Regions from separate parts of the Homo sapiens genome. Here region 2 is linked to region 1. The links are contacts of gene promoters, found by promoter capture Hi-C in blood cells and fetal thymus (Javierre and others, 2016). All regions are on one chromosome and are shown on one strand. The core of a region is centred on a gene start or on the middle of the fragment in contact, and the rest is flanking DNA. Distances in the headings are between cores, read along the strand shown. Region 1 overlaps LINC01116 (long intergenic non-protein coding RNA 1116). Region 2 holds the start of HOXD11 (homeobox D11).

Evidence for each region. The method cuts DNA at HindIII sites, captures the fragments that hold promoters and counts their contacts. A CHiCAGO score of 5 or more calls a contact.
Region 2: the fragment with the promoter of HOXD11 here is called in contact with a fragment that was not itself captured in region 1 in 1 of 17 cell types (fetal thymus); the score reaches 5.2 in fetal thymus.

The regions. Positions count from the first base shown.
Region 1 is chr2:176,614,750-176,620,114 of GRCh38, forward strand. The region is part of intron 4 of LINC01116 (long intergenic non-protein coding RNA 1116); the gene reads right to left. Among named protein-coding and RNA genes, the nearest start is that of MIR1246, 16 kb to the left of the region's middle. The HindIII fragment of the contact is 2,714 bases long and covers 1,619-4,332 here.
Region 2 is chr2:176,103,430-176,108,581 of GRCh38, forward strand. HOXD11 (homeobox D11) reads left to right here and starts at 3,851. Exons shown (of 2, transcript NM_021192.3): 1 at 3,851-4,707. The coding sequence starts at 3,927. RefSeq lists an enhancer at 721-1,707. The HindIII fragment of the contact is 7,005 bases long and covers 890-5,152 here.

The DNA.
Region 1 (5,365 bases), core at 1,726-4,225:
ATACCTAATTTACAAAGCTCCCTTTAATGGGTGCCATCTTACAGCCGGGGAAATGAGCCACTACCATGGAAGTCAGGTTTGTTAGCTTTTTTGCCTGAATCCCCTCCGTTTTTCTCCCAGCCTCAGCAAGCACAGTTTCTTTTCATCCTAATGTGGAGAGGGATAAAATGAAAGGAAATTTTTCCTTAATCCAATAGTGAAACTTTCCAGTTGTGAAGCACTTTGAAATACAAACTAATTAATAAACACAACTCTCTTCCAAAGCAGTAAGGATTGCCATTCTCATTTTTCACAGCTGAGAAAGCTGCAGTTAAAATAGTTTGCCCCAGGCTGCGTACCTTGTCTGTGGAAAAACTTTGAGGCACCAGCCCTGTATTCTCTCAGGATGGCATGTTGCCTCTCTAGAGAGTAATTGGCTTTCATACGGGTTGTAGCTAACAGTGACTTCCTCAATGACTCCACAGTGCCCCTGGCACCAGCTATGCAATTGCTAATGCTCTTGTCACAAACTGTGAGTGACCCACTAAAGAAAATAAAGAAAAAGTAATTCACTGGATGGCCCTCTCTCTCACAAACACTTCTGGAGATTGAAGAAATACTTTTGCAATCATAAGTCCTGTGCTAAACTGAGAATCAGACAAATGAAAAGTATTTGTTCATATCCTCATGGTACTAAGACCTTAGGGCCAAAATTATTACTGCCATTTCACAGGTGGAGAAACTAAGAACCAGAGATCATTGCTCCCAGTGGGAAGTCATTACAAGTCTCTCATCTCAATGCTATCATTTTGTCTTATCTCATTAAAAGAAATACGCTTGTATACAACAGCACTGCAGCTATTTCAGTAAGAAAAAAATGATCACAGGTGACATTATGTGTGAGAGTTTGCCTTGACCATGCCTTTTATGATGGAATAATTGGTTCTGAGTTGTATCATAGATGCATAATCACAAACAGGCCCCAGTGATGGTGGAATCTAGCCAATCTGGGAAGCCCAAAATGCTTTTACTATACCCACAGTTAAAACATTTGTATTTACAATACTGTGTCATAGCTTGCTTATGAAGTATAGGGCTTGTCATAAACACTATTGGCTGTCAAATATAAGAGAAATGCCTAGGACATAGATCTTTACAGAATCTTTGTTCTCCCTTCTTGAAGCATACACTGTTTATGTAAGTGAGGGATTAGTTATCATGAATAAATCCAGCCAGAATACTCTGGGTTCATTTTCATTGGTGACCATGGTGAGATTTAATGTTGATGTTATAAAACTGGACTCCTCAATATAAGAGCCACTAGCCACATGTGGCTATTGAGCTCTGCAATTTGCTGGTACAAATTGAAACATATACATGTAAAATACACACCAGATTTTGAAGACTTCATATAAAAACAAAATTGCAAAATAGCTCATTATTTTTATATTGATTCCACGTTGAAATGATAATATTTTGGAAATACTGGGTGAAATATAAGATTATTAAAATGAATTTCACCTTTTTTTTTGTAATGTTATTACGGAGCTACTAGAACATTTAAAATTCTATTCGTGAATCACATATTTCTACTGGAAAGTGCTATTACAGAATTCTCTCAAGAGCTTCCTAAATTGAAAGCTTATTCAATCATTCAGTCCCCCAGACCACCAGCAACAGCTTCCTGCCAAATGCACAGTGTATTAGGCCATTTGCGTTGCTATGAAAAAATACCTGATGCTGGGTAATTTATAAACGAAAGGGCTTTAATTGGCTCATGTTTCTGCAGGCTGTACAAGCATGGCACCAGCATCTGCTAGGCTTCTGGTGAAGGCCTCAGGAATCTTCCAATCATGGTAGAAGGAGAAGTGGAAGCAGGCACGTCACATGGTGAGAGCTAGAGCAAGAAAGAGAGACGGGGAGGTCCTAGACTTTTAAACAACCAGATGTCTCATGAATTAACTGGGTGGGAACTCACTTATCATCAAGGGGATGATGCAAAACCATTCATGAGGGATCCGCCTCCATGGTCCAGTCACCCCCAACACTGGCAATCAATATCAACATGAGATTTGGAGGGGACAAACATCCAAACTGTATCACACAGGAAGAGAATATTCAAGGAAGAGAATGTTTCCTGGCTTTAACATCTGTCTTAATTATTTTATTTTCTAATATTGGAAAAGACACTATAAAGTATTTTTCTTATATTTCTCCCTTGACTAATTCCTACATGTCCTTCAAGACAGCTCCACATCACCGCCACTTGGAAGCCATGCCTCACTACCACATCCCTCCATTCCTGGCTGTCTGGTGGCATGAAGCTGGCTGGGTTAGGTGCTCCTGTTCTGTGCTACTCTAGCCATATTATAATCTTGTCTCATTATAATCTACTTGTCTCTTAAACCCATTTCCTATAAATTCCTATGGTAAAAGTCTCTGTCTAAATTTCTCTTATGTAGCACAGTACCTGGAAACATTTCACAAACAATCATTTGTTGAATGATTGCTTAAATGAAGAACAAATAAATAAAAATAATTATTGGCTGGGCATGGTGACTTTTGCCTATAATCCCAGCAATTTGGGAGGCCAAGGTGGAAGGATCACTTAAGACCAGAAGTTCAAGACCAGCCTGTGCAACATAGAGAGAGTCCCTCTCTACAAAAAACAAACAAACAAACAAAAGTTAAAAGAATTAGCTGGGTATAGTGATGCATGCCTGTAGTCCCAGTTACTCTGGAGGCTGAGGCAGAAGGATGGCTTGAGCCCAGGAGTCTCAGGCTGCAGTGAGCTATGATCATGCCACTGCACTCCAGCCTGGTTGACAGAGCAAGCCTCTGTCTCTAAAAATAGTAATAATACTGCTTTAGTTGACATTGTTATTTCAGAATTATAAATTACAGTAGTTTACTTTTTTTTTTTTTTTTGAGACAGGGTCTCACTCTGTCATCCAGGCTGGAGTGCAGTGGCATGCTCACGGCTCACTGCAGCCTTGACCTCCAGGGCTCAGTTGATCCTCCCACCTCAGCCTCCCAGGTAGCTGGGACTACAGGTGTGTGCCACCATGCCCAGCTAATTTTTTGTATTTTTAGTTTTTGTAGAGATAGTGTTTCATCATGTTGCCCAGGTTGGTCTTCAACTCCTAGTCTCAAGTGATCTTCTCACCTTGGCCTCCCAAAGTGTTGGGGTTACAGGCTTGAGCCACTGTGCTTGGCCAGTAAGTTTGCATTTAATTGACACTATACAAAAGTTATGTTAGTTTATTCTCATAAATGTATTTGAAAGAAAATCCTTCATCATTTTATTAATCACAATTCTTTGTAATTACTCTCCCTCAACTCAGGAGTGCTGTGAAAATGATATTGATGACTAGAAATTGCTATGTGAAAAATATAAAGTAAAAATGTATTTGTATTTGTATATCACAAATCAACCAAACCGATGGTAGAGAGGTTAGTGGTGATACATATGAAGCATTTGCTGGGAATTGAGAAGGTGCCTATTATAAAATTAATGCGTTTGTGTCATATAATTTACTGACCAAACCCAGAGACTCTGAGAGTTAATGGTAGTGCTGTAATATTTATTCTGGGACAAAAAGCATAAATAGGACTGTCAGGAACAAATCAGGACATATGGGCACCTCGTTACATTAAATGAGAACCGTTTCTTATGCAGGTAACCCACAGTATAGAAGTAATGGATGGGCTGTCCTCACAGGTTTATAGGAAGAAAGGGACCCTCATCCTTAATGGAAGTCCCACGAGTTAGAACCAGCAGTTACAAGATTCTGTCTTTTCTACTGGCCACTCTGTCTCGGGTGGATGAAACCTTTCAGCAGTCCCCTTCCCGATGGAGCAACTGACGAGCCCTGTGAGTGGAAGCTCTATCACTTTGCCCATCAGCTCACAAACTCAGAAAACTGCTTGGATGGATCTGTTCTGTCGGGTGTGGGGAGAGTCCTTCCTTGATCAATGCTTAATGAGCCAACTCTGTCATCTTCCTTTCTGTGCCCTCCATCAGAGAGGTTGGAAAGAGGGAGGAGCTATAGAGCTGCAGCTTACTAAAGCCACTAGCCTCTGTCATTGTTCTGTTTGTTCCTCCTCGCCTTGGGAAAAAACTCAAAGCTATATCATCTTGATAAGAGCTTTCTATTAAAAACCAGTGCATACATTATTATTATCTCTTGAGAGATGAAGAAATGGAGGCTCAGAGACATTAAGAGATTTGCCCAGAGGGAGTATCATGGTGGAGACTTCCGAGGCCCGGGCTGGGGCATTTTCCACCGTAACACAGTGCTACATGGAAACACCTCATAAAGACTGCATTGCTTTAATTTAATTTACAATATAAGCTTGAGTGTTTCCAAAGAAATCAAATGTGATGTTCACGCTTTGTTTCCTACAGCGGTGGTTACCCTGTATCATTCCGTAGGCTTGCTGTCCTTGGGCAAATGTGACGCTGCACACCTAATAATCACAGCCAGTCTAGCGGAGGCCTGTGCTGCCGGAGAGCTCCGTGGATGCCGACCAGCATTATTTAAGTTTTCATTCAAAATCTCCTTTAGGGTGACTTCTGTGCACCTGAACTTCCCGTTCAAGAAGATCAACAAATGGCTGAAGACAGATTTTTCAGCCAGAGGAAAGAATTATTACCTTACCATCAGTCTAATGAAAACAGAGGTGAAATACCAACCTGCAGTAGATAAACAGCACACCGAGCCATCCATCACATTCAGCCTTACTGAGCAGAACACCCTAACCGATTTCGCCTGATTTTCCTGCGCCTCTTGCAGACAGGCATTCACAATATCAGAGAGCTGAGACATTTTCCAGCAAGCTTTCGTCAGAATAAAAACCTGATCAGGAATCCTTGAAGCCATCCCGTCTCCCAATCTAAATTCCCCTTTCTCTCTAGCTATGAACACCAATAGCTTATTAAAGACTTGCTTCTCACTCGCAAGCTCTGCCAAGCTGGCATTCCCTTCCAGGAGCTGGTTTCTATTATTATTGGATCTACACAGCACCTCCAACGACAACTCTCTTTTTCAGAACCTTCTAGTTGATAATTAGCATATCCATTCATTCAGCAGAAATACCTGCCCATTACTAGGCACTCCGGGTATAGAGATACAAGGCCCCTGTCTTCCAGGAGCTGAAAGTCAAAGGAAAAAGGCATCTTGCCTATCTATAGACCTTTTCTTTCATTTTTCACATATATCATCACTCATTTTGCCTTAGCAATGGTGAATCAAAGACAGCAATGCACATGTTGTTAACAATGGCCGTTGAGGAACATGTTTGAAGGGCTCTAACACATTATAAATTGTGCTAATGTCTGTTGATCTTTGCAATAAGGAATCATAATAGAAACAACAAAACTATG
Region 2 (5,152 bases), core at 2,601-5,100, 510 kb before region 1:
TGGGGAAAGGAGGAGGAAAGCATATGAACTCAGATCCAGGCCTTAAGACAGAAAACACGGAGGCCGTTTCTTTCCAAAATATATCATTAAATCATCGTGTTCTTTCCCTTTAGCCTGGGATGAGTGGGGGGAGGGGATATTCATGGAGATCACTCCTCAAAGAAAATTAAATTATTCTAAATATAAAAGCGTATCTCTTGGTTCAGCAGTCTTTTCCAAATCTATCCCGTTTGCTATTTCACACAAATACAAAGACTCTGGTGTCTCCTTCCATAGCCCGGGTTCCCGCAGAGATTTGGAACCACTAGGAAATTTGTTAAAAAAAAAAAAAAAAAAAAAAAGCCGAAGAGAAAGGACGCTAAAATCTGAGTGCTCAACATTCCCTTCAGAAAGACAAATGTGTCCTCTGAAATGCTGCAGTCCAAGCGGGCCTCTTGACCAAGAAAACAGTTTTAAAACGAGAAAAAAACAGCTTCATCTGGCATTCAATCAGTTGGGAACTCAGAGGGCGGCGGGGAAGGGGGGACGCTTTTAAGGCCTGGGGGTTCTCCCCCAGGGAGGCGGGCTGAGGAGGCTTCCGGGATGCCGGCGGGTGGAAGAGAAATCTGGAACCGTTGTAAATATTCATGTGGGGGGATGCCCCTTCACCCTTCACCCGCCTCTCCCAGCTGCATTCCCCCCTCAGTGATAGTGGGGGAGGGCAAGGCGACTGCCCCACTGTCCTTAGACAAAGGTGATCTCCCCATATTTTTGTTCTCCAGTCGCTTGACTTAAGAAGTCCATTCCGAAGGCTCTGTAGGGAAGGAACTGGCTCTGGGTGTTTTCCCTGCATTTCTCTTCTTTCGTTTCTTAAAAGAGCATAAATAATTAAAGTTTGGCAGGGAGGAAAAGCTTTCTTGCAGAACTGTAGTGGCAATAAATGAAATGACTCAGAATCCCTTCCCCAGTCAGCTTTTACGAGAGCTGCCAGACAGTGTCTGTTCACGTTCTCCAGATACCAGGGGCGCCCTGACAAAGTTAAGGTCAAGTTAGTGTCTTATCTTGGGTGACTCAAAATCACCGCATCGCGTCCTGGCGCTGTGCGGAAAGCTCTTTCTCGCGGAGCGGCTGGCTGCGCCCCGAAGGCCTGGTGCGCTCCCTGCGTTTCGGGTGGGGCCGCGCAGGCAAGGACAAGGCCACAGAGTCGGGGTCTTCACGGTAGGTTCTCGAGCGGGACGCGCGGGTCCGGAGGCTGCGGTTTTCCCTGGGTTTGGGGAATGGGGGTAGGAACTAGGAGGGAGCTGGGGCCAAAGAGCCAAGCGGGCTGGGACTGGAATGAAAGCGCTCTGGGTTGTGGAGTGGGTCGGGGGGCAAGGGTCCGCGCTAAGGAGCCGAAAGGGGCCGGCCGCCCCCTTCCCCTATGCACCGGCGCGCCACTGCAGATGGCTCACCCTCCCCCGCCAAATCGCTGCTCCCGCCGGAGCTGCCGTCGCCATGTCGTTGAACTTGAATGGTTCGTCCTCCCCTTTTCCCTCTTCGGCGGTCAGCAGGCTCCATACTGGGGGCGCCGGGCTGCCTGCACCCCACCCCGTGCCGCCAGTAGAGAGAAGGTGCGAGAATTTTGCGAATCCCCAGACACATAAAGACCCGGGTTGAAGTCCTCGCAGCTGCCCTGGGTCCTGAGCTACCGCAGGGCCAGTGTGCAGCGTCCAGGGAGCCATTTTAGGAGAGAGATCCAGGGGCGTCGACCACGAGCCCGAAAGGGAGAGGCTTGGGCCTGGGATGGAGATGGGGAGGCAGATAAGTGTGCTGGGGGTCTGGGTTGAGGAGAAGAATGTCAGCTGGAATCTGGGCGGGGGTGCCAGCTGCGGGGAGGGAGCACACAAGATGGGCAGTTCTAGTTGGGGGAGGCTCGATGCCCTCCAGTCGCCACAGACCTATTTGCGCAGTGTTGGGGGAGGGAAGAAGACATGGGAAGGGGCGGAGGAAGGAGAGAGGAAGGGAGAAAGGGAGGGAGGAGAAAAAGAGGAAGGGGGGGTACATCAGCCAGAAAATAGATATTAGCTCAGACCACCCGCCTTTTCTCTGTCTGTCCGCACGGTGGGCAGAGCGCACAGCACCGGCACTGCAGCAGCCCGGGCCAGGGAGGGAACCAGCATCACAGCCAGCGCCGCCTGCCCTGGGTATAGGACTGAGGCCCAGGCCCCAGCGCTGGGATTGCCTGGGCGGAGGAATCTTGGGGAAAGGGGCAGCCTCCTGCCCTCGGTTCTGGGATTTGGGTTTGGGAAGAGACGGTTTACCTTTGAAAAGCGTCTGCTCACTCGGAGGTGGGATCCCAGGCCTTGCCTGGACCCATGGGCTAGGAGAGGGTCGCGGCAGGCTGGGAGGAGAGTGAGGCCTTGGGGGAGTGGATGGGGTGCCCCACGAAGAGTCTGCCTCAGAGCCAGGTGACACAGAGGGGCTCCAGGAGGGAGTCAGGCTCCGCTGAGAGCCCTTAGAGAGACAACCTATCTTGGGGGAGGGGCTGAAGTGACCATGCAGACCCAAGGGTACCAGAAGAGCCTCGGGGAAACGCGGCGTGGATTCGCAGGCCTTGGCGGGGCTCCGAAGCAGTGAAGGGTCTAGGTATAAGGCGGACACCCAGGCTAGGCCTGAAAGCAGAGGGGTGAGGAGGACGAAGGTGCGAGTGTGTGGGGGTTGTCTCTTGTGGGGAGCCAGCGGGAAGCCAAGCACCCTAAGAGTAGGACTCCAGATCCTTTTGTTCACCAGACTCCCCAGATTCTAGGGAGGCTGGGGACCACGGGCTGAGCCCCCTCCTGGCTTCAGTGCTGAAGGAGAAGGCAGAGAGGCAACGGGGAGAGAGACAGAGACAGTGACACACAGCTTAGAGGAAAGGAGGGGAGAGGATGAGAGGACAGAGAGAGAGAGGAGAAGGGAGACAGGAAAGCAAGAGGAAGGAAGAAGGAAAGCGGAAAAGAAGAGGAAGGAGAGAAGTGAAGACAGGAGAGAGAAGGGAGAAGACTGAAGAGAAACGAGGCAAGGAGAAAGAGAGACAAGAACAGAGAGGGAAACCAGAGAGAAGGGAAGAGAGCCGGGTGGGCACGAAGGCCCCGGCCTGGGTGAGTGCCTAGGTGGTGAATGGCCTGGGTTTTTCCGAGGCCAGCACTCGCACCCTTGGGGTCAGAACCGGAAAGAGCCAAGTCACTCCACTCTGAACGCGCTGGGCAGAAAAATATGTAAATCAGGGCTCCCTGCGCCCTGGAGAGTGGCGAAATTACTCCCGCCCGGTGAACAAGAAGCAACAAGCTCCCAGGCGGGTGAGCTGCAGAGGGTGGCAGAGTCGCGGGGGAGGGAGCGGCTGCAGTAAGGGGGGTGGGGTTCGGAACCTCACACCCTCACACCTAGTTCCTAGCTTCTAGGGAGCCTGGAGCCGGGGCTTCCCCCCCTCTGCTCGCTGCTTCTCTCCCTTCCCCCTTCCTCCCCCTCTTCCCCCTCCTTCCTCCTCCCCGCCGGCCTCGGTCCGCGTACTTAAAGCGGCGCGGGAGGGCGGACGCGGGCGGGCGGCCCGTTCGGGCGGTGGCAGATGCGCCCAGCGGTGACAGCGGCCAGCGGCGCGCAGGTGACCGGCCTGAGGCGCAGCCTGGTCAGGGAGCGCCCGGGGAGAGCTGGCGGCAGAGGGCAGCCGATCCGCCCCCAGCGCGCGCGTCTCGGCGCCAGGAGCCGTCCCGGGGCGTGTTGGCGAGCGTTGATATAGATATAAGGACATTTCTCTTCATGGCGTCACGTGACATAATTACCACCAGAATCAATCAAGATGAATTGCACGTCAGCGCCCGGTGGGGATTTTTGCTTAGTTGATCCTGGCCCAAGCCTCTTGTGCAATCGATGGCTCAGGTTGGCTGCGCGGGGAGCGGCCAGAGGCTCGCTGGCGCGCACGCCGCGGAGTCATGAACGACTTTGACGAGTGCGGCCAGAGCGCAGCCAGCATGTACCTGCCGGGCTGCGCCTACTATGTGGCCCCGTCTGACTTCGCTAGCAAGCCTTCGTTCCTTTCCCAACCGTCGTCCTGCCAGATGACTTTCCCCTACTCTTCCAACCTGGCTCCGCACGTCCAGCCCGTGCGCGAAGTGGCCTTCCGCGACTACGGCCTGGAGCGCGCCAAGTGGCCGTACCGCGGCGGCGGCGGCGGCGGCAGCGCGGGGGGCGGCAGCAGCGGGGGCGGCCCCGGCGGGGGCGGCGGCGGCGCGGGGGGCTACGCTCCCTACTACGCGGCGGCGGCGGCGGCGGCTGCGGCGGCCGCGGCGGCCGAGGAGGCGGCCATGCAACGCGAGCTTCTCCCGCCCGCGGGCCGCCGGCCGGACGTGCTCTTCAAGGCGCCTGAGCCGGTGTGCGCTGCGCCGGGGCCGCCGCACGGCCCCGCGGGCGCCGCCTCCAACTTCTACAGCGCGGTGGGCCGCAATGGCATCTTGCCACAGGGCTTCGACCAGTTCTACGAGGCAGCGCCCGGGCCCCCGTTCGCCGGGCCGCAGCCCCCGCCGCCACCCGCGCCGCCACAGCCCGAGGGCGCAGCCGACAAGGGCGACCCCAGGACCGGGGCTGGTGGCGGCGGGGGCAGTCCCTGCACCAAGGCGACCCCTGGCTCGGAGCCCAAGGGGGCAGCAGAAGGCAGCGGTGGCGACGGCGAGGGCCCCCCGGGAGAGGCGGGGGCCGAGAAGAGCAGCAGCGCAGGTAGGCACCGGGTACTGGGCAAGCGGTGGGCCCGGGGGCCGCGGGGGAGGGGGGGGGGGCGGAGGCCTCCCTCTGCTTGCGCCTTTTTATGTGCTACTTTATAAGCATTCGAAGAGGTTTATACATCCTATAAGATTTCCTGGGCCGTTGTAAAGTGTGTTTATGGTAGGAAACCAATTTAGGTGGGCTTAAGGTAGACTTCGAGGAGGACATTAATAGCTGTCGAGAGCCTTTTCCCAGTTTTGGGCAGGGGGTTGCTAGATACCATGGAGGGAGGGAGGGAGGGAGATTTCAAGCCAGTGTGAGTGCATACACCGGAGCCTCCTGCTTTTAAGGGAGAGAGGCGGGGGGTGGGGAAGTGGGGGGAGTTTGATCCTTGCACTGGACTTTATCCAAGCCGCTAGCTGACGCGCGCCGCTGGAGTCAAGCAGATGCCCCGGCGGGC